3 separate regions of the Homo sapiens genome follow, and all the other regions are linked to region 3. Evidence: promoter capture Hi-C in human tissues and cell types (Jung and others, 2019). All regions are on one chromosome and are shown on one strand. The core of a region is centred on a gene start or on the middle of the fragment in contact, and the rest is flanking DNA. Distances in the headings are between cores, read along the strand shown. Region 1 has its middle 91 kb from the start of FASLG. Region 2 has its middle 140 kb from the start of FASLG. Region 3 holds the start of KLHL20 (kelch like family member 20).

Evidence for each region. The method cuts DNA at HindIII sites, captures the fragments that hold promoters and counts their contacts. A contact is called where the count stands out against the background at its distance.
Region 1: a fragment that was not itself captured here is called in contact with the fragment with the promoter of KLHL20 in region 3 in 1 of the 25 tissues and cell types used here (aorta).
Region 2: a fragment that was not itself captured here is called in contact with the fragment with the promoter of KLHL20 in region 3 in 1 of the 25 tissues and cell types used here (mesendoderm cells).

The regions. Positions count from the first base shown.
Region 1 is chr1:172,748,123-172,753,011 of GRCh38, reverse strand. It overlaps the pseudogene SLC25A38P1. Among named protein-coding and RNA genes, the nearest start is that of FASLG, 91 kb to the right of the region's middle. The HindIII fragment of the contact is 6,733 bases long and covers 1-4,889 here.
Region 2 is chr1:172,800,610-172,805,506 of GRCh38, reverse strand. No RefSeq gene overlaps it. Among named protein-coding and RNA genes, the nearest start is that of FASLG, 140 kb to the right of the region's middle. The HindIII fragment of the contact is 8,961 bases long and covers 1-4,897 here.
Region 3 is chr1:173,712,744-173,716,980 of GRCh38, reverse strand. KLHL20 (kelch like family member 20) reads right to left here and starts at 2,000. Exons shown (of 12, transcript NM_014458.4): 1 at 1,903-2,000; 2 at 915-978. The coding sequence starts at 937. It also overlaps a transcript of ANKRD45 not described here. RefSeq lists enhancers at 1,457-1,826, 1,907-2,096. The HindIII fragment of the contact is 13,268 bases long and covers 1-4,237 here.

The DNA.
Region 1 (4,889 bases), core at 674-3,173, 960 kb after region 3:
GGCTAGTGCTCTTCCTGGGGCGGGGGGAAATGAATTCATAGTGAATAAATAGCTGGTTTTAGAAAAACTGAAAAAAAAATTTTGAAAAGGAGACTATAGAGGCACAATCTGCGAAAGTTACTTTACTATAAATATGGATTTGCGCCTGCCCTTTTTTTTTTTTGACGGAGTCTCGCTCTGTCCCCCAGGCTGGAGTGCAGTGGCATGATCTCAGCTCACTGCAAGCTCTGCCTTCCCGGTTCACGCCATTCTCCTGTCTCAGCCTTCCGAGTAGCTGGGACTACAGGCGCCGGCCACCACACCTGGCTAATTTTTTTTTTTGTATTTTTAGTAGAGACAGAGTTTCACCATGTTAGCCAGGATGGTCTCGATCTCCTGACCTCATGATCCACCCACCTCAGCCTCCCGAAGTGCTGGGATTACAGGCATGAGCCACCGCACCTGGCCGTGCCTGCCCTTTTAAAAGACAATTGGATAGAAGTTCGGAAACGTAGAATTCTAATTCTGCTGTTGACAATTAATAGATAGATGACTTTAACAAGTCATTTTTCATTTTCTGTGCCTCAGTTTCCTTGTCTCTTCAAGACGTATAACAATCCCTGATACACCTCGGAGTTGTGGTAATTCCAAACAGTTATGTGATCAAATTCTCAGCAGTTTAAACTCCTCAGAATCCTCTAACAGCGGCTCTTTGTGTCTAGACAATGAGAAAAGAAATGTTTGTGAAATAAGTGGAATGGAACAGGAAGAATGAATTTTCTGGCTTAATTTTCTGATTTCAAAGAAACTTATTCTTTCAGGAGGATGTTTTGATCAATAAGATGAAAAGTATTCAGTAACATCCAATAGCTTTTCAAAGCTCATGTCATTGTGAGATCTTTTTGTTGTTGTTACTGATTTTATTGACCATATAGTTTAAAGAGATTTTCCTTATAATACATTTTGATATTTCACATTGTATTTCTTTACTTTCCATATTTCGTAATGAGATATAGATGGCAGGAATGAGGTAAATAGAAGAAATATCCCATCTGATAAATCACTTTCAGTCCTCATTTTCTCTCAACTATTAAATGAAGTCAATAAATTGTGAAACAGGGCATGAGAGTTAAAGCATCACAGCTGCAGATCTAAGAATCCAAGTACCAGACATGTGGGATATCAAAGGGACAAACAACACTTTAATTCAACAAGAAGTTCTTCAATAATGTTAGCATAATAACTTTTCTTGAATATTTACCAAGTACAAATTGCTCAATTCAAATTTAACCTGATTGTAAAACAAGAAATTATAGTCAGCTGGAAGGCTGACTAGCTGAACATGAACCAATGGATGACAGAAAGAAACTCTCCAATAAAGCAATTAAAATGACAGAGAGATGAGAAAATAATTGTGACTTTCTGGAAAGGCGTGAATTTTCTTTCCTCCGGGAAGGTTAGGTAGACAATTGCTATCGTAAAATCCAAGTTCTTGCAGAAGACAATATTAAAGAAATGGCTGTCCATGTAGTCCAGAAGAGCAGCCAGGTCCTGTGGTAGAACCCTATGGGTGATTGCTCCACAGAATTTCGCTAGTGTGGTTGGGAAGAGGAATAAAGTGTATGGCTGTAGAATGAGGTGAGTGGGTTTTTCTGCACAAAGATAACCCAAGAATCATCTTTGTGATTGGTAATCTGCACCGTGTTTGGGATCTCTTGCCCCAATTTTCAGATATTTGCATAAGTGCTCGGAAGAAGAAATATGTCACTTACTAATAGTAAAAGGACACACAGCACTTATATAAATAGAGATAACATGAGTGCAAAAGTGAATAAAGCAAAAATTTCCCCTTCAAGAAGTTCACAGTCTAAAATTGGGGCTCTTAACCTGTAGCCTATAAATAAAATTCAAAGAAATCCATTAAAATGAGTAGAAAAAAATATATGACTTTATTTTCACTAACTGCAAACTGAAACTTGGAATATTCTTTAATTATGAATGTAGGCATTAAACTAACCACAGCTGTATAAGCAGTAATTGTGACCTTGTCACTGGTTGAAATTACAGATATCGTAATATTTCTAACACTCATTGCAGATATTGTAAGCTACAGAGCTTGTGGATAACCAAGATGTATTTATGCTCATCACTACTGAAGTTACGTTAATAATTAGACCCACCAGTTAATGTTATTTAATGCTTTAATAAGGAAGCACATATATTGCAATAGCATATATTTGGGATTTTTTACTATTTTGATAACCATATTTCAGTAGAATTGGTTTCCTTGGTAATCCCATGCACTTTGCTTTATACATTTTAAAATATTATTCTGAGAAAAGGTTCATAGGCTTCACCCTATGGCCAAGGGGATTTACATAACAGAAGATTAAGAAACCCCATTCTCCAGAAAACTAAATGCTGCATAATCTCACTTATAAATAGGAGCTAAATGATGAGAACACACAGACACATCGAGTGGAACAACACACACTGGGGCCTATCGGAGAGTAGAGGTTTGGACAAGGGAGAGGATCAGGAAAAATAACTAAAGGGTACTAGGCTTAATACTTGGGTGATGAAATAATCTATACAACAAACTCCCATGACACAAGTTTACCTATATAATGAACCTTCACATGTACCCCTGAACTTAAAAGTTTAAAAAATATATTGTATATATGCATAGACATGTCCTTAAAATATTTTTTTAAAGAACCTTCATTCTCTTCTCTGAGAATCAGACAAGTACACAGCTCTTGCACCAGCCTGACGGAAGTGTGGTGACTGTCTTTTGATTGAAGTCTTGTCTTCTAGATTTCTAGTTGCTTCTCTGAGCTACTCTAGAAACTTTTTTTTTTTAAAGTAAAGCACTTTAATTGCAGGGAAAAAAAAAATGCCAGAATTTAGAGGTGAAACAATACAGGGGCCAAGACCAAAAAATTTTATTTGGACATTCAGAGGCTAGAAAGCCACTGTCCCGTTCCCCAGAGCCTCTGAGAAGTTGACTGAGAACCAATTAAAGAATGGCATCTATTCCTCCTCATCCTACCATCACCTCAGTCAGTCTGTGACCTGGTAACAGTGACTCCTCTCCTCACATCCAGTCCTCCCTGGCTGGAGCTCCTCAGGCCCGGCAGGCAGCTTACAGCTTCTCTGGCTTTGTGATTCCTTGCCCAAGAACGTACCCAAGGAGACCCTGTGGTGTAGGTGTGGGCCAGAAGCGCAGCCACCTGACAGAGCTCTCCTGGGAAAATGCCTTTCCAAGTAGCCTCTCAGGGTATGCAAAACTCTCTCCTAACACCCCAGTGTGTTCTATGTATTGGTGACTCCTCTTTTGGAGATTGTGAAGGCTCAAATCAGGTCCATATATTTTTCTCCTTAAAGGGATTACCGAAGGCAAAGGCAACACAATTTCTGCCTGGTTTTCCAGGTAGGACTTCATCTTACTGCAGAATAGTAAGCAGCAGCAGCCCTTGGCAGAAACCAAGCAGGGCAATAGATTTCACCCTTTCCCAGTCCTCTCTTGGTCAGGACTTCAGGCCCATCTTGGCCATCATCTCTTCATACACCATCTACGCCATTGCTGCCATTAGAGTTCTGCAGAGGGCTCGGGGGATGCCACCTTGGAAGAAGCCACGTAGTCCATAGTCTTTGAAAGTAAGTGTCACTGCTTGGCCAATCCATTGAAACTTCAGTGGGTAAAGCTGCATATGAGTTTTGATAACATCCGCAGGTTGAGTTACCAGTGAGGCGAGAATACCAGCAAATATCCCACAGCTGAAATTTGTAATAGGAATAAAGGTTGCATCCACCTGGTCATGGGGCACTATGTTTTTGGTCTGGTTGTAAAACATCAGGTAGTTTCCTGAAAAGGGCATATCTCGAAGGAGAGTTGCTGTCAGGCCACTGAAGAGGCCCCGGTGCCCCTCACTGCGATAGATGCTCCTCACGGCAGCGTAGATACTCTCATAGCCATATTTCCCACTCTCATAGCACATCTTGATTACAGTGATGGGTAACATACAGACCCCTGCAACAGAGAGAGAGCCCACCCCCAGCATGATTGACTCCAGGGCGGTTGGGGGATGGCCTCGCAAGAAATACCGCTTCAAAGACTAGAGAGTGCCAAAGTAGATTCCAACGCCAGGGACACATCTCACAACGGAAGGGGACATCCCTTTCCAAAGGCCTAAAAGACTCTCCGTGTGAACCACCTTCAAGAGTACAGCCAACATCCCAACACGTCTAGACCCATGATCTGAGGGCTGGAGGGTTTGCAGGCGTGTTTTAAGGAGATCCAGAGGTTGGAAAAGGAGGGTAGAGCAGGTTCCACTGATGGAGCCACACAGGAAAGCCTTGATCACCAGATGTAACTGGTGGTGCCTCATGTTTTCTTCATACCATAAGCGTTTCCACTGTGTCTCTGACATCTTGGGGTTGCAGCAGTGACGAATGTGAGTTCTGAATCATTGGAGATGAGGCCCGCGAGTGCTCTGGGCCCAGGGTGCCGTCGACGGGTGCTTGGGCCCAGCCCTGGAGGCCTCGAAGAAGGTGAGGGGATGGCTTACTTTAAGCCAAGGGCTCTCTGACCTCTGCGCCTGTAAGCATGCAGCCGCCCGGGTTCAGATCCTGCTAACACAGGGGCTGCAGGCGCAGAACAATTCCGCCACAGGAATTACGCGCCGCTCTTCACCCGCGCGGCAGACTCCGCGGCTCTGCTCTCCTGCCCATCCTGCCCCGCCGCGGGCTTCAGCACCGGAGGAGATGAGGTTCTGTGTCTAGAACCTTTCAATAAGTCCTTTTCCTGCTTATATAATCTAGAGCTTATACCTATTAATTGCAACCAAGACTCTCAGCTAGAACAATATTTAATCAGTACTTGTATGTTATGATTTTAATAAATATAT
Region 2 (4,897 bases), core at 158-2,657, 910 kb after region 3:
TTTTTGAGACAGAGTCTCACACTGTCACCAGGCTGGAGTGCAATAGTGTGATCTTGGCTCGCTGCAACGTCTGCCTCCTAGGTTCAAGCAATTCTCCTGCCTGAGCCTCCCGAGTAGCTGGGACTACAGGTGCATGCCAACATGCACAGCTAATTTTGTATTTTTAGTAGATATAAGGCTTCACCACATTGACCAAGCTGGTCTCAAACTCCTGACCTCAGCTAATCTGCCTGCTTCAACCTCCCAAAGTGCTGGGATTACAGATGTGAGCCACCGTGCCCAGCTGGTCTTGATTATAAATTATAAAATCTGTTTCTTTAACAGCTACCCTCTAAACTGCAGACAGTTTCTATTTTTGACACATTTTTTTCTGAAATCTATTTAATTTTTCCAGTTCAGGTTTAACTAAGAAATGATAGTTTCATGGAATGGTAATTTCATTTCTCAAGGTAGTTTTCCCCTTGAAATTTCTCAAATTCATATTTCAGAGGCTCACCTCTTGCTGTATCTTGCTGCATGTATTTTGCAGTTATGCATAATTGCCTTCAGCTCTCCTTCCTCCCCTTAAAAAGTCGTATATTTTGGCCAGGCATGGTGGCTCACACCTGTAATCCCAGCACTTTGGGAGGCCAAGGCGGGTGGATCACCTGAGGTCAGGAGTTCAAGAACAGCCTGGCCAACATGGTGAAATTCCGTATCTACTAAATACAAACAATTAGCCGGGCATGGTGGTGCATGCCTGTAATCCCAGCTACTCGGGAGGTGGAGGCAGGAGAATTCCATGAACCGGGGAGGCAGAGGTTGCAGTGAGCTAAGATCAGGCCACTGCACTCCAGCCTAAGTGACAGAGCCAGACTCCATCTCAAAAAGAAAAAAAAGGTGTATATTTTTGTTTGGCTTGGATAATAACTCTCCTTCAACCTTTATGCCAGTTCCTGTGACTTTTTTCTCCTCTTCTAACTCTGCTATTCTAACCTGATGCTGAAATGTTTATCTTGAAGTCCTAGAAAAGCAATGCTTTCCTCCAGTATAACTTGATTCTGTACTCTTGACTTTTCTTGCTATGTTGGAATTGTCCAACGTAATTGTGTACAGAATTGGTCCCTTCCAGTGGGTTCTTGGTCTCGCTAACTTCAAGAGTGAAGCTGTGGACCCTCGCAGTGAGTGTTACAGTTCTTAAAGATGGTGTGTCTGGAGTTTGTTCCTTCAGATGTTCAGATGTGTCTGGAGTTTCCTCCTTTCAGTGGGTTCGTGGTCTCACTTGACTTCAGGAGTGAAGCTGCAGACCTTCACAGTGAGTGTTATAGCTCTTAAAGGTGGTGGTCCAGAGTTGTTTGTTCCTCCCGGTGGGTTTGTGGTCTTGCTGACTTTAGGAGTGAAGCTGCAGACCTTCACAGTGAGTGTTACAGCTCATAAAGGTAGTGCAGACCCAAAGAGTGAGCAGCAGCAAGATTTATTGTGAAGAGTGAAAGAACAATGCTTCCACAGTGTGGAAGGGGACCTGAGCAGGTTGCTGCTGCTGGCTTGAGAGGCCAGCTTTTACTCCCTTATTTGGCCCTGCCCACATCCTGCTGATTGGTCCATTTTACAGAGTGCTGATTGGCCCATTTTTACAGAGTGCTGATTGGTGCATTTACAAACCTTTAGCTAGACACAGAGCACTGATTGGTGCATTTTTACAGAGTGCTAATTGGTGCGTTTACAAACCTTTAGATAGACACAGAGTGCTGATTGGTGCATTTTTTACAGAGTGCTGATGGGTGCATTTACAATCCTTTAGCTAGACAGAAAAGTTTTCCAAGTCCCCACCCGACCCAGAAGCCCAGCTGGCTTCACCTCTCAATCCCCCCTCTAAACAGGACACCCCAACTGCTGTTGGGAATTGGGCGATGACTACTGTAGCTACTTCCTGCTGGATAGGGGCGAAGAAGGGGCCCTACAATTGTAGTGTCCTCCAGAGGGGAACTCTTTAGGCCAGTGAAAGGGCCAGCAGGTCAGTCCAGGGGTCCTTGGTAGAAGTTGTTAGTTGAGCTCATTTGGGGTTCCATTTGTAAGACCATCTGTAGCTTGATGGCCTTGATCCTAGAGGAAACAAATTTGACAAGGAAGTTAAAAATACAGGTCCTGAAGGTGAGTAATAGTAAGATGGCTGTCACGGGACCTAGGAAGGGAAGAAGCCATGTTGCCCAACTCCAGAGGTTGGTATAAGAGTTTGAAAGGCGTTGTCTGATTTCAGAAGTCTTTTCCTGTAAACACCGGGTGGCATCTCTTACTATCCATGACTGGTTAGTGTAAAAACAACACTCTCTTCCCCTAAGAAGGCACAGAGTCCTCCTTTCTCAGCAGTGAGGCGGTCTAAGCCTTGGTGGTTTTGGAGAGTCACTGCTGCCAAAGAGTCTATTTGGGATCATAGAGTAAGGATAGATTCCATTGTTTCTTGCAAACTGTCTGAGAAATCCTCTGAGAGTGTGTGGTAGTAAGATAATGAAGTAGATAAACAAGCTATTCCAGTTCCTGTAGCAGTGGCCATTCCTAAAACCATGTAAGTGGGGGTATTAGTTGTATGGCTCTGTGCTGATGGACTTGAGCTTTCAGGGGCACTGATAAGGTCTGATTTCCATAAGATTAGAAGTTAGGATAATACATGTTACACTGTTAACTCTTTTAGCAAACTTTACTTTTGTTGAAAACCTTGTAAGTTTGGGATTTCAATTATTTTTTGCTATTAATAAGACCTCATTCAGTCCATATTAACTTAGAATTGATATAGATGGCTCCTTCCTGATTCTGTAAGTACTTTAAAGTTTGGCTGAGTGCAAACAGCTTGCAGGTTTGAGCAGACCAATTATTAGGCAATTTTCCTAACTCTGATTCTACAAGAGTTTCCTTATCACTTACTGAATACCCATTGTGTCTTTTTTCCTTAATTGCCTGGGAGGAGCCATCTATCATCCTGTCCTGAAGGGAGTTCCTCCTAGATCTGGTTGGACCTTTGTATGGTAATTAATTAAGATTTAGATCCCCTGTTAGGAAACCTGCTGGGTTAAGGATTTTTGATAGGAAGGCTATGGGTTGTCAGTGGCCTCAGTGCTTTCAGGCTATGCCCTTGTTTACACTGACAACAAGGTGGTATTGGAGTGCTATAGGGATATGGAGAAGACCTTAAATTATCAATTATAGGTTTTAAATTTACCCTGGTTTTTAAAGGAATACAATACACTGTTTTTTCTTTACTACTTCCAACTCTCCTTCTTTCTCTTTGACTTCTTCTTTGTCTGTCTGTCTCTCTCTGACTCCCTCTTTGTCTCTTCCTCTCTTTTCTTCTTTGACTTTGTCTGTCTCTTCCTCTCTCTCTCTGACTCCTTTGTCTGTGTCTTTTCCTCTCTCTGTCTCCTTCTCTTTGTCTCTCTGTTTCTTCCTCTCTCTCTTTCTGTCTCTTTCTCTATTTCCTTTCTGCTGCTTCTGCCAGCTGCTTATGCTGCCGTTCTCCCCTCTCCTTCCCTTTTTGATGGCTTCATCTGTGTAAGACTGCCACCTCCTTTGGTTTTTGTACTGTGTGCAATAACTCCATGGTTTCCTTGTAATATTTAATGGGGGTTCCCCTAGAGGTTAGGAACTCCCTTTCTTTCCATATTGCAGCATGGGTATGTAGGATTAGATAAACATACTTACTATCTGTAGCAAAGTCTCCCAATTACAACTGAGGAGGTGGGAGAAATACCTGGTTACAGGCCATCCCAGGATTCCTCGGATGGTAACGGACCTTGAGGACAGTCGTCTGGGACAGGAGATTAACACTGAGAAGGCCGTGCCAGTGTCCAGGAGGAAGTCTCAATTTCCTGGCCTCAATGGTTAAATGTACCCGGGGCTCAGTGAGGGTGACGACATGAGCTGGCGCTTGCCCCAGGCACCCTCAGTCCTGTTGTTGGATCATCTGGTTGGGGGCTTCTGGGTCAGAGAACCATTGCACTCTGGGGCAGTGCGCCTTCCAGTGACTGCCTCAGCATAGCAGACATTGATGAGGGGATGGCTTGTTTCTTGTTGGACAATCTTTTTTAAAGTGTCCTTGTAAACCACACTGATAACAAGCCCTACCCAGTGACTGGCCTGCTCCATTTTCTGTCCTGTCTGAACCACCAAGGTTTGTTTGTCTGAGGACCATGCCTAAGGCTGCGGCCTTTCTCTGATCTTGCTTTTCCTTTTTGGCCTGTTCCTCTTGGCCCCTATTATAGAACACCGAGATTGCCAGGTTTAATAATGCCTCCAGAGTTTGTTCAGGGCCTAGGGCTCACATTTGGAGCTTTCTCCTGATATCTGCAGCTGATTGGGTAATAAACTTATCTTTTAGGATCAATTGACCCTCTAGTGAGTCAGGTGACAGAGGAGTATATTTTCTTAAGGCCTCCCATAGCCACTTGAGGAAGGCAGAAGGATTTTCTTCCTTTCCCTGAGTTATGGTAGACATTATTGAATAATTCATGCACTTTTCCCTAATTCTCCTTAGTCCTTCTAGAACACAGGTCAACAGATGTTTGTGACTCCAGTCCCCATGATCTGAGTTGAGGTCCCAGTGGGGATCCATACTGTGGACGGCTTGCTGACCAGTAGGGAATTTATCCCTTTCTTCAGCTGTCATTCTATCATTTACTTGACTAAGATACCAGGTATCTCCAAACTCTCAGGCTGCAGCTAAAGCCGCATTCTTTTCATTAAAGGCCAGGGTTTGATCTAATAACATGACATCTCTCCAAGTGAGGTCGAAGGTTTGCCCTAGACCCTGTAGGACATCTATATACCTATCAGGATCATCTGAAAGCTTCCCCAGGTCTGCCTTGATCTGCTTTAAATCAGAGAGGGAGAAGGGGACATGTACCCAGGTTGGGCCGAATTCCCCTCC
Region 3 (4,237 bases), core at 751-3,250:
TCCCCAATATCCTGATCAGATACACTAAAGAAGTAAACTGGGGTACAGAGAAGGTGAACAGCTCAAGGTCAATTGATAAACCAATAACAGATTTGGATAAAGATATACATTCTGGTTCTTGCTCCAAGTTCTGAGTTATAAGTCATATTCCCATTATAAAATGTTTCTTCTCTTAAAAGAACTGCAGAAGTTGTTTATCTTTGATGTTAAATAACAAATGATTAAATAGAGTTCAATAAATAGAAAACAAATGTAAAAACCAAAGAAATAGAACTGGGATGATTTTGTATCATAAAGATTCTAGTCTCATTTGTTAGAACAAAATGAGAAAAAACATTATTAAATTCTAGGGTTGGGAGGGCCTATTTATTGTCTATATTTTCCCAGACATTGTTCTATTTTTCTATGGACTAAGTTATTATGTCTAATACCTATTTTAGTCCTTATACAATCTTCCCTACAATGCAGCTATTTTAATTAACAGAACAAATGTATGATTGAACATCAAGGAAATAACCAAAACCATAATTAGGCATGCAGTACAGTATATTATAAATAATTATGATTCTTACATGGGAACAGAATCCTCTACATTTTATAGGGAACTGAAGATTATAATAAATCCATATAGTATCATAATGAACTTAATGATTATTTACTGTAAAAAACATGAAAAAAGGAAAATTTAAGTGTTTAGCACTACATACAATCCACAGCACTTTTCAGAAACAACTTCTGTATTTTATTCTATTAAAAAGCTATTAATTCTTAATATTACTTTTGATTTATTGTAGAACAAGACTCATTAGTTCCAAGCAGAATTTAGTAAGATTGAAACTCTTTTTTAAAAATTTAAATTATTACATGCTGAATTTTAATCAGTGAAACCAAAGGTTTTCTTCCTAAATGCCTACCTGCGCATTGGCTTTCCTTCCATGCACCATGAAAAGTACCCTTCACCACACTCTAAAGCCGAACCTAAGACAACAGAAAAGCAGGAACTTAATAAAAGCTATTTCTGATCTTTACAGTAACAATCTTTATATAATCATTTCACTCATTTCGTCAGTTATCAAGAGTTTCATATCCTATTATACCACAGGCCTTCTGCAGATGCACAATAACTTAATCTAGTACATTTAAGATTACCATCCTTACTCTGCATGCTAAAACGATTAAAGTAAAGGTGAGGGAAAGTATGCTAAATAGTCCCGACTGTTAGGTCAGTCTTGTTTCTCTTCAAAAAGTGCTTGGAGATATTTAACTGTGATCTCGACATCAAGTATATTTACAGAACAAGCACCAGATACCCACAGCAGTACTAACCTGATAGATCACATAGGGTACACGAGGCTTTAATAACGAATCTGAAGATTGTTAACTTGTCCCGAAGTGACAGGAGGAGGAGGCGTCTGCATTTGCCTTTACAAACAACTCCGCTTCCGACAGTCCAGGGAGCTTGAACAGGGCAGGGAAAGTATGGCTCCAGACTAACACTCTTTACAAGCATTTCCTTCAGTCCCCGATACAATGTTCACTACCCACGTAGCAGGATTTCGCCAGGTCCCGAGGGTTAAATGGGGGCGCACGTACTTTCTTCCTTCCCTGAATTCCAAACACTGTCTGGGGAAGCTGTCCAGGATGCGAAACCCCAGCACCACCAGGCAGGACAAAGCCCGGGGCCTCCTCTGGCTCCCGAGATAGGCTGTCAGCCAGCGAGAGCGCACTCTGGCGCTCCGCGAGGCCCGGCCCCAGCGCCCCAACAGTCTCTTCTCGGCGCCGACTGACAGGCGACCGACCTGACCCCATGGGGCAGCTCAGCAACTTGGGACCACATATCTGCGAAGCGAGCCCTGGGGCGCTGTCCGCTGTCCCCTGCTCTAAGGTGACTGGCTCACTTACCGGCTCTGACACTTTCTTCTCTGCAGCAGCCTCCTCCGTCTACTCCGCCCTCCACTCCTCTCTGCCTCCTCCTCCACCGCCGCTAACGCAGGCAGGATGCCGCTCGTAGAGCTATTTCCTTTCCCTTCACCGGCCCATATCCAGAAGCAGGAAGTAGTCCTATTCTTAAATCGTTCCCGCAGGAACCCACATAATCCGCCAAGGGGTTCCGGTGCGGCTCCGGAAGTAGTCGTGCCCTTTGCTGGGGCATTCAGGTAACCTCAGAGGTTGTTTATCCTCGTGGGGGTTCCTTGTATCCCAAGAGTAACCATTTTTAGAATTCACTGCGGAACTGGCAGTATTTGAATACTGAAGCCTCCTCTTTTCTTCTTTGTTTTCGCCAGCAAAGGCAGTAAAGGGTAGTCACAGAAAGCTAAGAATTTGTATTTCTTTTTAGTTGGTGGGTCTCCTTTTGGCACAATGTTCCTAATTGTGGATTGAATTATTGCATGCACACATGGGTTGGCATGTATCTGTCAGGCCTCTACTATGTGCAAGGTGCAGAAGTTAGATAGACAGACCAGAGATAGACCTTATCCTCCAGATTTCCCACGGTCAAACTTTCAGGACACCAGGATTTTATCCAGGCTCTAAGGCTGTGTTAGTCTGCCCTTTCTACTTAGTATTCACCACCAGACACTTCACCAAACACATCTTCTGTGGATTCACTTTAATGTTAAGGAGGGAAGAGTATATTTTCTTAAAAAAATTTTTTTTCAGTAGCAAGCAGAGCCAAAAAAGTATATTTTTAAAATTATCTTTTCCTCCAGATTTTCCCATAGCACACAGCCACCTGATTTTTACCGTATATTAATATTTAGAAAACAAGTGATACAAGTGTAAGGTGGGGATTACAATTTCAGGAATATCAGAGAAAGACTGTTGCTGATTTCCTGGTAAGTATACTAGGCTAAGTATTAACCAGATTTTCTTTAGCTGTTCTTTATGTAGAATCTACACAGGTGTGTCCAGTTGTTTCTGAGGGGAAAGGATACCTCTTGTTAATTAGCTTGTAGTGGAAAATACATGGCCTTTAGATCCAGATATAGTGGCCCAGTGGATTCTTCTTGCCTGCTGCCCAGATACAGATGATTTATCAAGGTATAGGGATTGCAATGGAGAAAGAGTTTTACACAACATCGAGTGGAAAAATGGAAGAAGTTTTATTATTACTCAAATCAGTTATATTATTACTCAAATCGGCCTCCTGGAGCATTTGGGGGCTAGGTTTCTTTTCAAAGGTAGTCTGGGGAAAGGGGTAGGGGTGGCTAGGCAATGGGTGCTTGCTGCTGACTGGTGCAGTCATAGGGGTATGGGAGATGGTCCTCCTGCCTACTGAGTTGTTTCTGGGTGGAGCCACAGGAACAGTTGGTGGGTCCAGGTGGAGCCATCAGTAGTCAAACATGCAAAAAACTTAAAAATATACCCAAAAAGGCCAATCCTAGATTCTACAATAGTGATGTTATCTGTAGGAGTAATTGGGGAAGTTGCATATCTTGTGACCTCTGGAATAATGGCTGGCAATCACTTATGTCTACACTTAACAGAATTCAGGCTCATCTATCCCCGTTGTCTGGTGGTCTCTCATTAGCTTTACAAAGGCAATTGAGTTTTGGGGAAGGACTGTAATTATTTAAACTATTAAACTAAATGTCTCCCAAAGTTATCTTGGCTTAAGCCCAGGAATAATTAAGGACAGACTGAAAGCTAAAGGCAAGATGGGGTTTGGCTAGATCAGATCTCCTCCACTGCTATAATTTTCTCACTGATAGAATTTTTGCAAAGGGGGTTTCAGTTTGCAAAGGCGATTTCACGGATACACATAGGTACAAATCCTAGACCTGTAACTGACTAGCTTTGTGATCTTATTGAAAATTTTTACTGCATGTGTATATGTGATATATATACATATGCAGTAAAATGATTTCTTTTCCATATTTTAAAACTTTTCATAAATGGTATCAAAGCATATGTATTCTTTTGCAACTTCCATTTTCCACTCAACATTCTGTTTGTAAGATTTGTCCATGTTGATCAATGAAGGTCCAATTCAGTGATTCTCAAAGTGTTGTCCTGGACCAGCAGCATCAACATCACTTGGAAAATGCTAACCCTTGAGCCCCATTACAGACCTATTGAATCAAAAACTGAAGGTGGGCCCCAGTAATCTGTGTTCTAACAAGTTCTCCAGGTGATTATAGTGCATGGTAAAATTTGAGAACTACTGCACTAATTTATTTATTTTCACTGCTTTATAGTATTCTATTATATGAATATACCATAGATTTTTTAAAAC